3 separate regions of the Homo sapiens genome follow, and all the other regions are linked to region 3. Evidence: promoter capture Hi-C in 16 types of primary human blood cells and fetal thymus (Javierre and others, 2016). All regions are on one chromosome and are shown on one strand. Each heading gives the region's core, a stretch centred on a gene start or on the middle of the fragment in contact. The rest is flanking DNA. Distances are from core to core; before and after follow the strand shown. Region 1 holds the start of DHH (desert hedgehog signaling molecule). Region 2 overlaps TUBA1C (tubulin alpha 1c). Region 3 holds the start of MCRS1 (microspherule protein 1).

The links. Contacts are between HindIII fragments. The CHiCAGO score rates a contact against its expected background, and 5 or more counts as called.
Region 1: the fragment with the promoter of DHH here is called in contact with the fragment with the promoter of MCRS1 in region 3 in 14 of 17 cell types (M0 macrophages, monocytes, M2 macrophages and 11 more); the score reaches 11.3 in M0 macrophages.
Region 2: a fragment that was not itself captured here is called in contact with the fragment with the promoter of MCRS1 in region 3 in 6 of 17 cell types (endothelial precursors, M0 macrophages, M1 macrophages and 3 more); the score reaches 14.0 in endothelial precursors.

The regions. Positions count from the first base shown.
Region 1 is chr12:49,091,985-49,096,246 of GRCh38, forward strand. It overlaps DHH (desert hedgehog signaling molecule), which reads right to left and starts at 2,817. Exons shown (of 3, transcript NM_021044.4): 1 at 2,226-2,817. The coding sequence starts at 2,528. DHH-AS1 (DHH antisense RNA 1) reads left to right here and starts at 110. Exons shown (of 4, transcript XR_007063295.1): 1 at 110-358; 2 at 846-921; 3 at 2,138-2,204; 4 at 3,417-3,760. RefSeq lists an enhancer at 690-834 and a cis regulatory region at 754-771. The HindIII fragment of the contact is 10,631 bases long and covers 1-3,041 here.
Region 2 is chr12:49,266,256-49,270,403 of GRCh38, forward strand. TUBA1C (tubulin alpha 1c) reads left to right here. Exons shown (of 4, transcript NM_032704.5): 2 at 3,210-3,432; 3 at 3,573-3,721. Among named protein-coding and RNA genes, the nearest start is that of TUBA1C, 3.2 kb to the left of the region's middle. The HindIII fragment of the contact is 1,629 bases long and covers 907-2,535 here.
Region 3 is chr12:49,564,985-49,569,501 of GRCh38, forward strand. MCRS1 (microspherule protein 1) reads right to left here and starts at 3,158. Exons shown (of 15, transcript NM_006337.5): 1 at 3,064-3,158; 2 at 1,738-1,857; 3 at 1,093-1,231; 4 at 545-683. The coding sequence starts at 1,747. RefSeq lists enhancers at 2,454-3,257, 3,608-3,657. The HindIII fragment of the contact is 9,561 bases long and covers 1-4,517 here.

The DNA of each region.
Region 1 (4,262 bases), core at 1,567-4,066, 470 kb before region 3:
GGGGGTTGCGCGAAGTACAATGGCCATTATCCGGGATGACTTAACCGAGCGAGAATCCTGAGCCCAGGCCGGGAACGCGCTGGGAGAAGCGGACTCAGCAGCTCCGGCCACAAAGGCGCTTTTCAGCCGCCCCGGCTCAGGGAGAGGAAAGGGCAGAAAGCCGCGCCCCCAATCCCTGCTCCGTCCGGGTAGGTCCCCTCCCCCCGCGCGTCCAGTCTTCCCAGTTCCAGCTAAGGCTCTGCCAGTCCGGAGAGCCCCTATCTCTCCCATCTCTGCTCTAGATGCAGCCCAGAAGGGCGTGGGAGTAGCACCTGAGAATAACGGTCTCCTTGTGCGGATCTGGGGAGCCCCCTGCAGGGTGAGAGCGGAGAAGAGGAAAAGAAGCTGCGGCTGGAAGCCTGCACCTGGGGGAGTGAGACCACAGTTATCTTGGCCGCTCCAGCCTGGGAGCGGGAGACCTTGGCGCGCACCATAGCAGGGACACCGCGGGAGGAGGCGCAGAGGGACAGCTTCCTTTTTTTCTTTCCCCTCCGACCTCTCACCTCGGACTTGGTTTTCTCCTAACAGAAAGACACTTTTCCCCTCTCCTCTAGTCTCCTCCACCCCGCAGAGTTGGGGTTGGGTGGGGGGAAAACAGGAAAAGTGGTAGCTCCTTCCAACTTTGTCGTTTCGTCCCCTAAGGAGGCCCCGAGGCCCTGACCTGCGGGGGCAGCAGCCCAGTGCAGAGCCAACTCAATGGAGGCCTTTTGCAGCCAGGGTGTGGGAGATAAGTAAGACTGAGGGGGCTCCCAGGCCTGCCGGAGCCCCTCCTGAGCCTGTCCCTTGTTCTGCCCACTCTGCTGCAGGTGGCAACCAGAGGAAAGGGCCACAATGTTCCACGGCCAAGGAGGAAAGAAGGAATGCCCCTTTTCCCATCTCTAGGTAGGAGGAAGGCTTCAGGGCAGAAGCAAAAGGAATTATTTCTTCCCTGGACAGGTTTTCCTAACAAAGTAACCTGGAAAACTATGGCAATTAATCAGAGGAAATCCGTACCCCTCCCTCTCCCCCCACCTCCCCACTCCATACACAATTAGGTGGTGTAATGGAAAGTATATAGGGCTTAGAATCAGGAGTCCTGAATTCTAGTCCCAGCCATGCCACTTTAAATTGTGAGAGTTTAAATTGCTTTTCCTCCTGGGGGAAGTCCAGCTCTCAGATGTAAAATGAGGGTGGCAGTGGGGGTGGGGAGGGTTGGAGGAATGTCATCTCTCAAGTTTTCTTTCAGTTCTAACATTCAAGATCACTGGCCAGGCTGGATGAAGTGGCTCACACCTGTAATCCAGCACTTTGGGAGGCCGAGGTGGGAGGATCCCTTGAGCTCAGGAGTTCAAGACTAGCCTAGGCAACATGGCAAGACCCCGTCTCTACAAAAAATAAAAAATAAATCACTCGCCAGAGGTGGTCCTTCTCTTCCACCTCACTCTAGGTGGTTCCAATGCTCAAAAATGGTAGTTGAATTTATCCTAATTATGTAATTCCAAGGAAAGCCCCTGAGATAGGCAGAGCTTGGAAGACTTAGGAGCCCTCTGATTCTCAGGTGGGTCCATCTGTTATTCTCACTGAGGATTACTTTTTAACCCCAAGATTATCGTTTAGACCCTAGGATAGCCCTAGAATAGACCCTAGAATAGATGTGTCCTGGTTCTAGGACACGTTTCCCATGCCAAAAGCAATGTCTGCCCAGCCCCTCCTCAGGTAGATGGTCTGGTGACCTGACCCTTGGCCACCCCTGTCCCAGCCCTTTTCAGTCTCTTCTTTTCGGCCCACAGAGCTTTTCTACAATCAGGTCAGGAGCCAGGCTTCTGTCTGCTACCTAGCCAGCTCCTGGCCCCCAGCTCACCCCAGCCCTTCCTGCCTGGCTGGGTGGCTGACCCCCGGTCCACGCCTCAGCCATTTCCCGTCTCGCCTGCCGCCATCCTCCTTTCCCCGCCCTCGCTGCCTCTACCAGCTTCACTCTCACTAGTCAGTCCCTCCTCCCCTCCCCATCCCAGACTATTCTAGTCGGGAGCCGTCCTAATTACTCTGTCCAGACTGCAAGGATTTTTCCCCCCCCTGGGGCTGGTGACAAGGGAAATCTCTAAGGCTAAACTCTCTGTAGGTGAAGCTGGACTCACCCACCTGGGCTGCCATAGGAAAACGGAGGAGCTGGCAGTGCCCCGGCGCAGGTAGGGAGAGGCCCTCCTTACCTCGGTCATCAGGCGGTCGGCTCCACTGTTCTCCTCATCCTTGAAGATGATGTCGGGGTTGTAGTTGGGCACGAGGTCCCGGAAGCGCTCGGAGCCCCTTGCCACCCTCCCCTCCGCTGGCCCACTGGCGCCCAGGGTCCGCTCTGGCACGCCGGGCACAAATTGCTTGTAGAGTAGCGGCACGAGCTGCTTGCGCGCATAGCGGCGCCGGCCAACCGGCCCCCGGCCCGGCCCGCAGCTCTGGGCTGGCAGCGCCAGAAGTGCCAAGCAGCACAGGGGCAGTAGATTGGTCAGGAGAGCCATGGATACAGCGGACCTCGGCCAAAAGGGAGCGTTCTTGTCCTCACTAACTCTCCTGTCAGTTAGGCATCTCCACAGGCACCAGAGAGGGCAGCAGGCACAGCTGCCCCCAGAGTGCCCTAGAGCTCTTGTGGCTCCGTGCACCTGGCTGCTGCTAGCTCTGCCCACGTGCCCCGGGAGCGGGCGGGGGGTGTCTAGGACCTGCTACTGACAAACCATCATAGCAGGGAAGGGGGGTCGTGGGTGAGTGCCAGCCCAGCCCGTCTCTGCTGCAGGACTCTGGTGCTGCCAGAACGCCCGGACTCCGGACTCCGCCTTAAGTGGCCCCTGGCCCCGCCCTCCGCCCTTCTCCCAAGACCGTCCCACCCCCTCCCACCCGGGCGGGGGATCTAGCCGGTCACTGCTGGTCCATTTTGCGACTGAAGTGTGTCCCATCCTGGAAACCAGGCAGACACCTGCCTAGGAAATACTTGTAGCTTTACAGTCCTTGGCTGCCTAAACATCCTTCTACCTCCAAGCTTAAACTTGGAACCAAACCACCCTCCTCTGATACTTGAATTGGAATTTTTACTCTCTCAAAGCCTACCCTGGCAGGCCATGCCCTCCGCTGTCATCCAGGAAGTATGGGTTCCAATTTCTGCCCAAGACCAGCCAAGCCCTTTGGGCATACAACCAGAGCCTCCCTTCTCTGTAGTCCTCCCCAGATCTCCCCGACTTCCATCTCTCCTCACATTCAGCATTAAGCAGGACTGGGAGGTGAGGATACCAGGGGCCCATTTCTCTACTAACTTTGCAGTCTCCTTTGGAACTTCCCCAGAACCAGGAACAGAGCTTGGTACTTATTGTCTCATTTAGGACTTCCAACTTTTTTCCCCTTCTCTTCTTTGCCAGGCATCTAATAGCTGCTGTTTTTCAAATGAATGACTTCTCAGTTGGAAGCTGCTGAAGGGCAGTGGACACTCAAAAGTCTTTGTAAGAGGTGAGGATCACTTCCCTTAACCGTCCATCTAGGCACCTCTCCAGCTTTCTCCCTCTCTGGACTCCCGGGGCTCCATTTTCAGCCACTCAGATCTCATCTCAGAGGCACCACGTCCAATTTCTTTTGTTTAGAAGTCATTTCTTCTAAGAAGCCTTCCTTGATGTCCCAACACTGCCCACCTGTGTTCCCTCGAGAACCATTACTTAACTGCAGTGTTAGAACAGTATTAGAATTATCTGGCACCTTACTAGACAAAGCAATCTTAAGCACACACATATTTATCATGTATCTCCAAGGTTAAGTGCCTACTCTACAGAAGGGTGCTTTGCAAGCATTTGTGGAATCTACACTTTGTGTTTCATATTCACCCTCCCCTCACCACACTCTATGGCTAGTACTCATAGCAACTTTGTGTACATCAGAAAAAACCAGGCCAGGCACAGTGGCTCACTCCTGTAATCCCAACACTTTGGGGGCGAGGCAAGGACTGCTTGAGGCCATGAGTTGAAGACCAACTTGGTCAACATAGTGACACCCCGTTTCAAAAAAAAAAAATTAATTAGTGGGAGGTAGTGGTACATGCCTGTAGTCTTAGGTACTCAGGAGGCTGAGGAAGGAGGATCACTTGGGTGCAAGAGTTCAAGGCTGTAGAGTGAGCTAAGATCATGCCACTGCACTCTAACCTGGGTGACAGAGTGAGGACCCCCCCCCCCAAAAAAAAGATGGCTGGGTGTTGTGGCTAACCCCTGTAATTCCAT
Region 2 (4,148 bases), core at 471-2,970, 300 kb before region 3:
TCTACTAAAAAAAAAAAAAAAAAAATTAGCTGGGCGTGGTGGCAGGCGCTTGTAGTCTCAGCTACTCGGGAGGCTGAGGCAGGAGAATGGCGTGAACCCGGGAGGCGGAGCTTGCAGTGAGCCGAGATCGCGCCACTGCACTCCAGCCTGGGCGACAGAGCAAGACTCCGTCCAAAAACAAAAAAAAACCCGCAAACCCCAGAGTAAACTAGTACCACGTGTTCTTAGTTCAGTTTTCAAGAAACGTGAAATTATACGTAACTTGAGTGTTTTCTATAAAGCTTCCAGAAGTATTGAAAACAACTATCTTAGGCCGGGCGCGATGGCTTATGGTTGTAATCCCAGCACTTTGGGAGTCCGAGGCGGGAGGACCGCTTGAGCTCAGGAGGTCGAGACCAGCCTGGGCAACACGGTGAAACTCCGTCTATACTAAAAATACAAAAATTATCTGGGCGTCGTGGTGCGTGCCTGTAGTCCCAGCTTCTCGGGAGGCAGGGGTGGGAGGATCTTTTGATCCCGGGAGGTGGAAGCTGCAGTGAGCCCAGATCGCACCACTGCACTCCAGCGAGACCTTATCTCAAAAATACGTACATGAATTTAAATATAAAAATCAAATGTAAATACATGTATATGTCGCACTGTAACAACTTATTGCTTCTTTTCAAGCAGTACCAAAAAGATACTGGTAAAAGTGGGATTCACAAAGTAGTGAGACCCTTTAAAAAGCAGGAGAGCGGCAGCGGACTGGTTTAGGTGAACACTGGTTAAATTTTCTTGTTTTTTAACGAGAGGTAAGAGCTGCTTATCCAGTTAACACTAGACCAATTGACTCCACCTGTGCCTCACTTTCTCCCACGTGGCCAGGGGAGAGTGGAGGGTAAGTCAGTGGCCGCTGACTGCCTGCTAAGCTTCAAGAAGGCAGTTTAGACTGAGCAATGAAAGAAAAATTGCGGGCGCAAAATAGAAACGGCATTTAAACAGAAGAAGCATTTGTTAGAATGAGTGGATCTTCTCAGATACTTTATCTCCTTGGGCCTGGGGGCCATCATGATCAGGTATCTGGTTATCTCCAGCTTTTTGGGGCTTGGGCGTTTCCAAAGTCCAGTTAAAGGTAAACATGATGCCGGGCGTGGTGGCTCCCGCCTATAATCCCAGCACTTTGGGAGGCCGAGGTGAGTAGATCACCCGAGGTCAGGAGTTCAAGACCAGCCTGGCCAACATGGTGAAACCCCATCTCTACTAAAAATACGAAAATAAGGCAGGCATGGTGGTGGGCACCTGTAATCCCAGCTACTTGGGAGGCTGAGGCAGGAAAATCGCTTGAACCTGGAAGGCGGAGTTTCCACTGCACTCCAGCCTGGGCGACAGAGCGAGACTTTTTCTCAAAAAGGTAAACATGATGCAATGGTAAATAGTCATGGGCTAATTAGAACAAACTACTCCTGTTCTCCCACACCCCTGGAGCTGGGTGAGTAGACCCAGGTGATACTGAGCTTGCTGATGTGGTTAAGAGACCTTGATTGTTTCATGGGGAGTGTAGGTGGGAAGGAGGTCAAAGGTTGTGAGTAATTAGGGTTTTTATTATCTCTTGGCTTATGAGACCAGGTCCTTTGAGAACTTAGTGCTCTGCCAGTCTCCAAAGTGGCTAATCTGACTTATGATGAAATGCCAAACACCCTTTTTGTTTTCCTGTTAAGTCTGTGTGTACAGATTCTATGTTTATTCCCTTATTTTACTTAGCAGGTGTGGGTTTGGTAATTTCTAACCATATTCTGCTTTGGCCCCTCTGGCCTTTCTAAATTAACTTGGTCCACCTCATAAATATATATCTATGAGAGAGAGACACACACACACAGACACAGACACAGAGTCTTGCCTCTGTTGCCCAGGCTGGAGTGCAGTGGCGAGATCTCTGCAACCGCCACCTCCTGGGTTTGGGTTCAAGTGATTCTCATGCCTCAGTCTTCCGAGTAGCTGGGACTACAGGCGCGCACCACCATGCCTGGCTAATTCTTGTATTTTTAGTAGAGATGGGGTTTCAGCATATTGGCCAGGCTGTTCTTGAACTCCTGACCTCAGATGATCCACCCACCTCGGTCTCCCAAAGTCCTGGGATTACAGGCATGAGCCACTGTGCTCTACCATAATTTTTTTTTTTTTTGTATTTTTAATAGAGACAGTTTCACCATGTTGGCCAGGCTGATTTCAAACTCCTGACCTCAAGTGATCTGCTCACCTTGGCCTCCCAAAGTGCTGGGATTACAGGTGTGAGCCAGAAACAACTAATTTCTTAACCTATCAGTAAAGTCTTGGTAACATTTCTAGCCTTTATTATTATGGTCTTCCCTCTTCCGGAGATGTTTTGACGGTGAAGGAAAAACGTTCTTCCTATAGATTAGATTCTTCCACTTGGTTAAAAAGCTGCCTCTGACCACAGTTTTTAAAATACAGCTAACTGCTGCTTATCCAGCATTTTCTTCATGAGTCATGGCTATAGTTTGCTGGTTTAAGCTGGTTTTAAAGGAGGGAGAGAGAAGCTTTTGTCTCCTAAAGAATAGGATTAAAGCGGGACCAGAATGAGCTCAGTAGTTACACAATCATTCAGAGAATGAATCAGAGCTGGAAAGGGGAATTTTGCCTTAGTTTAAGGAATCATATCTACTGTGGCTACAAAGCAACTGTCTGGTCTTGCCGAGTAGTTCATGAACACATCTTTGGTTTTCCAAGGCACTTTTGCTGAATTAGGTCTTCAAAGATTTTTGCTTTTGAAATTATAGTCCCTGAGCAGGAGTGGCCTGCTGAAAGATGGTTATCTTTTTTTGTTTGAGATGGAATATCTTGTCACTCAGGCTGGAGGGCAGTGGTGTGATCTCAGCTCACTGCAACCTCCACCTCCTGAGTTCAAGTGATTCTCCTCCCTCAGCCTCCCAAGTAGCTGGGACTACAGGTGTGCGCCATCATGCCTGGCTAATTTTTTTTGTATTTTTAGTAGAGATGCAGTTTTGCCATGTTGGCCAAGCAGATCTCAAACTCCTGACCTCAGGTGATCCACCTGCCTCAGCCTCCCAAAGTACTGGGATTACAGGTGTGAGTCACTGCGCCCAGCCAGTTATCTGTCTTGAAGGTTAATCAGTCATTAGGTGTGAATCATTCCTAAATGTCCCATCTGATGTATTATACCCTGACATTTTCCTTTCTTCCTCCCACAGCGTGAGTGCATCTCCATCCACGTTGGCCAGGCTGGTGTCCAGATTGGCAATGCCTGCTGGGAGCTCTACTGCCTGGAACACGGCATCCAGCCCGATGGCCAGATGCCAAGTGACAAGACCATTGGGGGAGGAGATGATTCCTTCAACACCTTCTTCAGTGAAACGGGTGCTGGCAAGCATGTGCCCCGGGCAGTGTTTGTAGACTTGGAACCCACAGTCATTGGTGAGTTGACCTCAGTAACCCAAGTGAGATCCCAGGGTGCTGGGACAGGAGGTCTGTCCTGGGGGGGCTCCGCTGGTCACTCACCCACTCTCCCTCCCCGCTCCTTGTCCCTCCTCCTCCTCCCCCATCATGTTCTCCAGATGAAGTTCGCACTGGCACTTACCGCCAGCTCTTCCACCCTGAGCAACTCATCACAGGCAAGGAAGATGCTGCCAATAACTATGCCCGAGGGCACTACACCATTGGCAAGGAGATCATTGACCTCGTGTTGGACCGAATTCGCAAGCTGGTAAGTATAGTACTTTAAATAAAGTGGGATGAGAGTTTCTTTTGCAGTTCTGAGACCAAACTACAGAAATCATTCTTTGCAACTAAAATGAGACTATTTGCATTGCAACTAAAATGTATCTGTTCACTAAATTAATTGGATTTCTGAACCAGATGATCTTGGATTTATGGGACAACTATGGGGTAGAAGTAAGTGCTCTTTAGCCTATTTTGCTTCAAGCTGAGACACCCCTTTTGAGGTCATCTTAGTCATACTGAGTGAGTAGGTAGCTGACTTCTACATGTAACTAATTGATCAGAGTCATTTTTTAAAAATCTGGGATGGTTCCTTCATGTCAATACAGAAAGTTCAGAGAACAAGAAGCCAGTGTCACACTGACAAGAAACAGCCAATACTGGAAACTTCCAGTACTGCTGAAAGTGGAGTC
Region 3 (4,517 bases), core at 1,908-4,407:
CGGCAGCCCCAGCCCCAGCCTCAGCACCAACTCCAGCCCACAACAGGAAGCACAGGAAAGGAGCTCAGCTTTCTAATACCCACCCCCATCCCACCAAGTTACTTCTATATAGTCCTTGACCATACGGGGTCTTCTCTTTGCTGGCAGTATCCCCGACCCCAGAGTGAAAGTTGGGTGGGGAGGATACCGGGAAATCACTCTTGCTGGTGCAGTGTCTAGGGCCACAGCAATGCCACCTGGGGGTTATTTTTACACTCTGCAATGCTGGGAACAGGCTGTCTGCTCCCAGAATAGATGCATGCTCCATGCCTCCCACACGGAATGTGATACAGGATGCAATGGCAGGGTTGGGGGTGGGGGCTGCAGCAAGAAATGGGGAGTAGGGAGAGGTGTGTTCCCAGGAGGGGGGCATCTGAGATGAGGGCTGGGGCAGCTTGGTCCTCTCACCAGCCTGCTCTGCAGGGCTCTTGGCAGCTGGCAAAGGTTCTGGGGAAACATGAAATCTGGCACTACCTCCCATCCCCTAAGTCTCCCAATTCCTCACCTTCTTCTTCTCACTGGAGGAGGGTTCACTCCCCGAACAGCGCCCTGGTTCCACCCCACTGGCCCCCTTTGCCCGGGTAGAAGATTTTGCCAGGCTGCTCTCCACCAGCTCATCATCGAACTTCTTCCTCTTGATGAACCTGTAAAGGGTCCTGCCCAGTGAACACTCCTTACCCCACCCTGGTACCCATTCACACACCCCCAGCCCCCAAAAGAGAGCAGGTGCCCAGTAGGGTGCTATCTGCTCCAGCCTGCTTTCACTTTACGCCACAGCCTGGTTGTGGCCATGGAACTGCTACACTCCAGCCCTCTGAGATGACAGGGTATCACACCACAAAGACTTCACGTCAGAGACCTAAGATCTCCCTCCCCTGCCCTCAGTCCCACAGGGAAGGATTTAGCAGGGACAGGAAAAGCACAAGGCTCTGCCAATACTAAGGCCCCAGAGGGGCTCAGGCAGCCATTCCCAACAGATGGGGAGGCATGTGGCACTTAACGCCACAGACCTTCTACCCTTTCCCAGTTCCTGGCCCTCCGAACCCTTACTACCTGGAGGAGCTTCTCCGTTTAGGGATGGTGCCCAAGGCCTGGGAGGAGGCTCGCTTCTGCCCTGCCAGTGACTCCTCATCCTCTGAGCGGCTGGCAGTGCCTGATGCCATCAGGGATGAATCTAGCAGCCCCTGAGAATCTAGCAAGAGAGAAATGGTGGATTCGGGCCTCCTAAGATCCTAGAGCCTCTGCAAATGGGACCCCTCCCCAGCCCCCTTCCCCTGCCAGCCCTCTTGGCCCCTCCCCTGCCTCCTTGACACTTGAGGTTTTAAGGTAGAGTTCCTTGGCCATCCAGATCCCATCTGGGCTCAGACCTGGCCCAGACCTTCCACGCTGGGCAGTTCCCCCGGTGCCACGTGTCATGTCGTGCAGCACATGGTGCTCAGGTCAGACTGGTGATGCCGACACGCTGGGCTCTGGGCATAACTGCTCCCTCTGCCATCAAAATGCAGCCGTGCTAAAGAGCAGCAGCTCAACAGCAAGTCAGTCAACTGTGGCTCTGCCGACAGGTACATGGGTGGTGCTGGCCCAGGGGGAGGTGGCAAGGCCTAGCCAGGACCGAAAGACACACGTGCCAGGCACAGAGTGGAATCAGCAGATGCTTGGCGCCCGAGCATTTGGGGAGCTGTCCCGGCCTCATACTACCTTTGTCCATCCTCTTACAGTCCCAAAGCCACTGGTTCCAAACCACCGGGCTAGGAGGAACGGTCCCACAGGCTCATCCAAGGATTCTGACCAGGTGAGCTTAAAGGCTGAGAGGAGATTCTGCAAAGGAGAAATGAGGCTCCCTGAGGCTCAGATTTCCAACTGGCCAGCCTCACTTCCTTATACTGGCTCAGGTCCCCCAGGGTCCCATAAGCTAGGGAAGACATAAGGACAGGAAAGAGGCATAAGGCCCCACTCTGCCAATAATAGCCTTAGACATCAGTCTTGTGAAGGTCACTGGCACCTTTCAGAGTATGATAACAGCTATGGACTGCAGAAAAGGGTGCAAACACATACTATTTTAGAGGGTTCATAGACCCTTTAATTCTACTGGTATCTCCTAGGTTAAGCGCCTTGACTATAAACTAGCAAGAGACAAGGGATTCTTTGGCCCACATTTTTCTTTACTTCAGCTGTCCACTCAGCTCAGCAGCACCAGCCTTCCCCTCCCAGGCCAAAGCAGGAAAAAAGAAAGGGAGACAAAACTCCAACCAGTCCATCTCGTTTTTTTTTTGTTTTTCTTTTCCATTTGGGGTTTTTACTGAAGATTTAGTAAGTGGTATTTCCATGAGATACCATCTCGTGGAAACCAAAAACCACTGTTTGGGAACTGCGTGATTATCAACCACGCTGTGCCCCAACAACCCCTAGAGAACCCAGGTACTGGACTTTCTCGGGGCGCTCCTCTCGTGAGTCCCCACTTCTAACCAGGGTGGCTCTTAGCTCAGTGTTCTAGCCCTGTCCCCAGGTGAGCCTGTCGCTCTCCGCTCCATAGGCTACGACTAAGAATCTTGACATCTGAGGAGAGGGCGAAGGGGCCCGAGCTTGCCGGCAAACTGAGGTAGGGTCTGTGCCCCTTCCTTACCGGACCCTCCGCCCCTCGTTCTCCCAAGAGTGCACACCCAAGGTAGGGGATCGGTCCAGGTCTGTCTCAAGAACTCGGGGTAGGAGCATTGATGAAGTCACCTCTGCAACTCAAAGCAGAGCACCAAGTAGCCTTGGTTTGAGACCCACAGGCTGGTGGCTGGGGAGGTGGGGGTAAACTCGCAAGCCCATTCTCACCCCACGGTCTCCATGCCTTTGCGCATGCGTAACACTTCGAGCCAGATTCTAACCCGGTCCGGCCCACGCATGCGCAGCTTTTCGGGGCGCCACTGGGGCGGGGCCCCAAACTTGGGGGGTGGTCGTCCCCGGCGGCACTCTGCAAAACTCCATTTCATCCCCAACTCCTCTGAGAACCCTCAGAGGCGAACCGCGAGGTCTCACCATTCCTAGACTGCCAGATCCAACAATTTCTCCGCGGCGACGGTAGCAGCCGCAGGGCCAAAGCCGGCTTCCGTGAGGTACGTCTACTTCCGGTTAACGAACCAGGGGGCTGGCAATCTCTTCCGGTTCGTCTTGGCAACGTGTGTGAAGGGGGCGTGGCCATGGTACGGAAAGTGTAAATATTTTACCAATAGCGGAAAGTAAAGGCTTTCCTAGTTGGGACAGCATATAGGGAAACGTTAAGGATTATAGGCACCGGAGAGGTAACCCGGCTTGAGGGGTTGGTTAAAGGGAAAGGCGAGACTTAGGGCGAGACCGAGCGGGGCTAATTGAGGCGACCCGGGGAGGGGCGGGACCGCGGACTGGATTTCGACTTCCAAATTCCCACGAGGTATAGGAGTCTGAGGGTTGCACAGGACCTTATGCATTGTTTGACTCCTCCAGAGCCTTTAGAGAAACTTCTATCAGGCCCGCCTGCTAGGCACTAGTCGGGGAGATAATGTAGCCAGGGAGATGTGGCGGACAGAAAGGGCAGAGAGGCTCTCTGAGGAGCGGATGGAGGATCGTGGGCCGCTTTACTGAGAAGGAAGAGACCCTGCGAGAAGGAGTAGTGTCGACTTGGTCCCGTCAGCCGGACCCCACCTGGACGGCTGGGGCCACTTGTGGTCGCCGGGAGGTAAGAGAGAAAACCAATGGAAGCACCTTCAGAGGAGAGTGCCTTGGAAGGAATCTTGGGGTGGGAGAACGAACCTGTCGGAAAAATTGGGAATTTGGGGCTGTGAGAGATGTTCCGGAAAACTAGAAAGACTGTTGTCTAAAAGAGGAATTCTGTTTTATGCTTCCTTTGCGAGGTACTAAAGTCTAGCAGCTATAGAGAGACATACTTCAGCTCAGAATAAGAAAGATTCAGTTCCAAAGCTGTCCATCAGAGGTGTCAAGAACACATAACATGGACATTGCTAGGGAATTCAAGTGTCAAATGAGAGACTGGCCCTTTTGGCCCTGACGGTATACTATGGCCCTCTGCTTCGAGAGTACCAACCTCATTTACTGTTCTGTGGACTTGTTTAATGAGTATGTACTTATTTTAACTCCCATGAAAGAGTGTGTGTTTTATTTTTTAACAGGCACTTGATTAAATATATTATGTAAACTTGTGAAAATATCAGAAAACCAATGAAATTTTTTTTTTTTGAGACAGAGTCCCGCTCCATAGCCCAGGCTGGAGTGCAGTGGCACAATCTCGGCTCACTGCAACCTCCGGCCCCCGGGTCTCGGTTCAGGCAATTCTCCTGCCTCAGCCTCCCGAGTAGCTAGGATTACAGGCACGTGCCACCATGCCCAGCTAAGTTTTTTTTTTTTTTTTTTTGTAGAGACAGGTTTTCACCATGTTGGCCAGGCTGGTCTTGAACTCCTGATCTCATGATCAGGCTGCCTCGGCCTCCCAAAGTGCT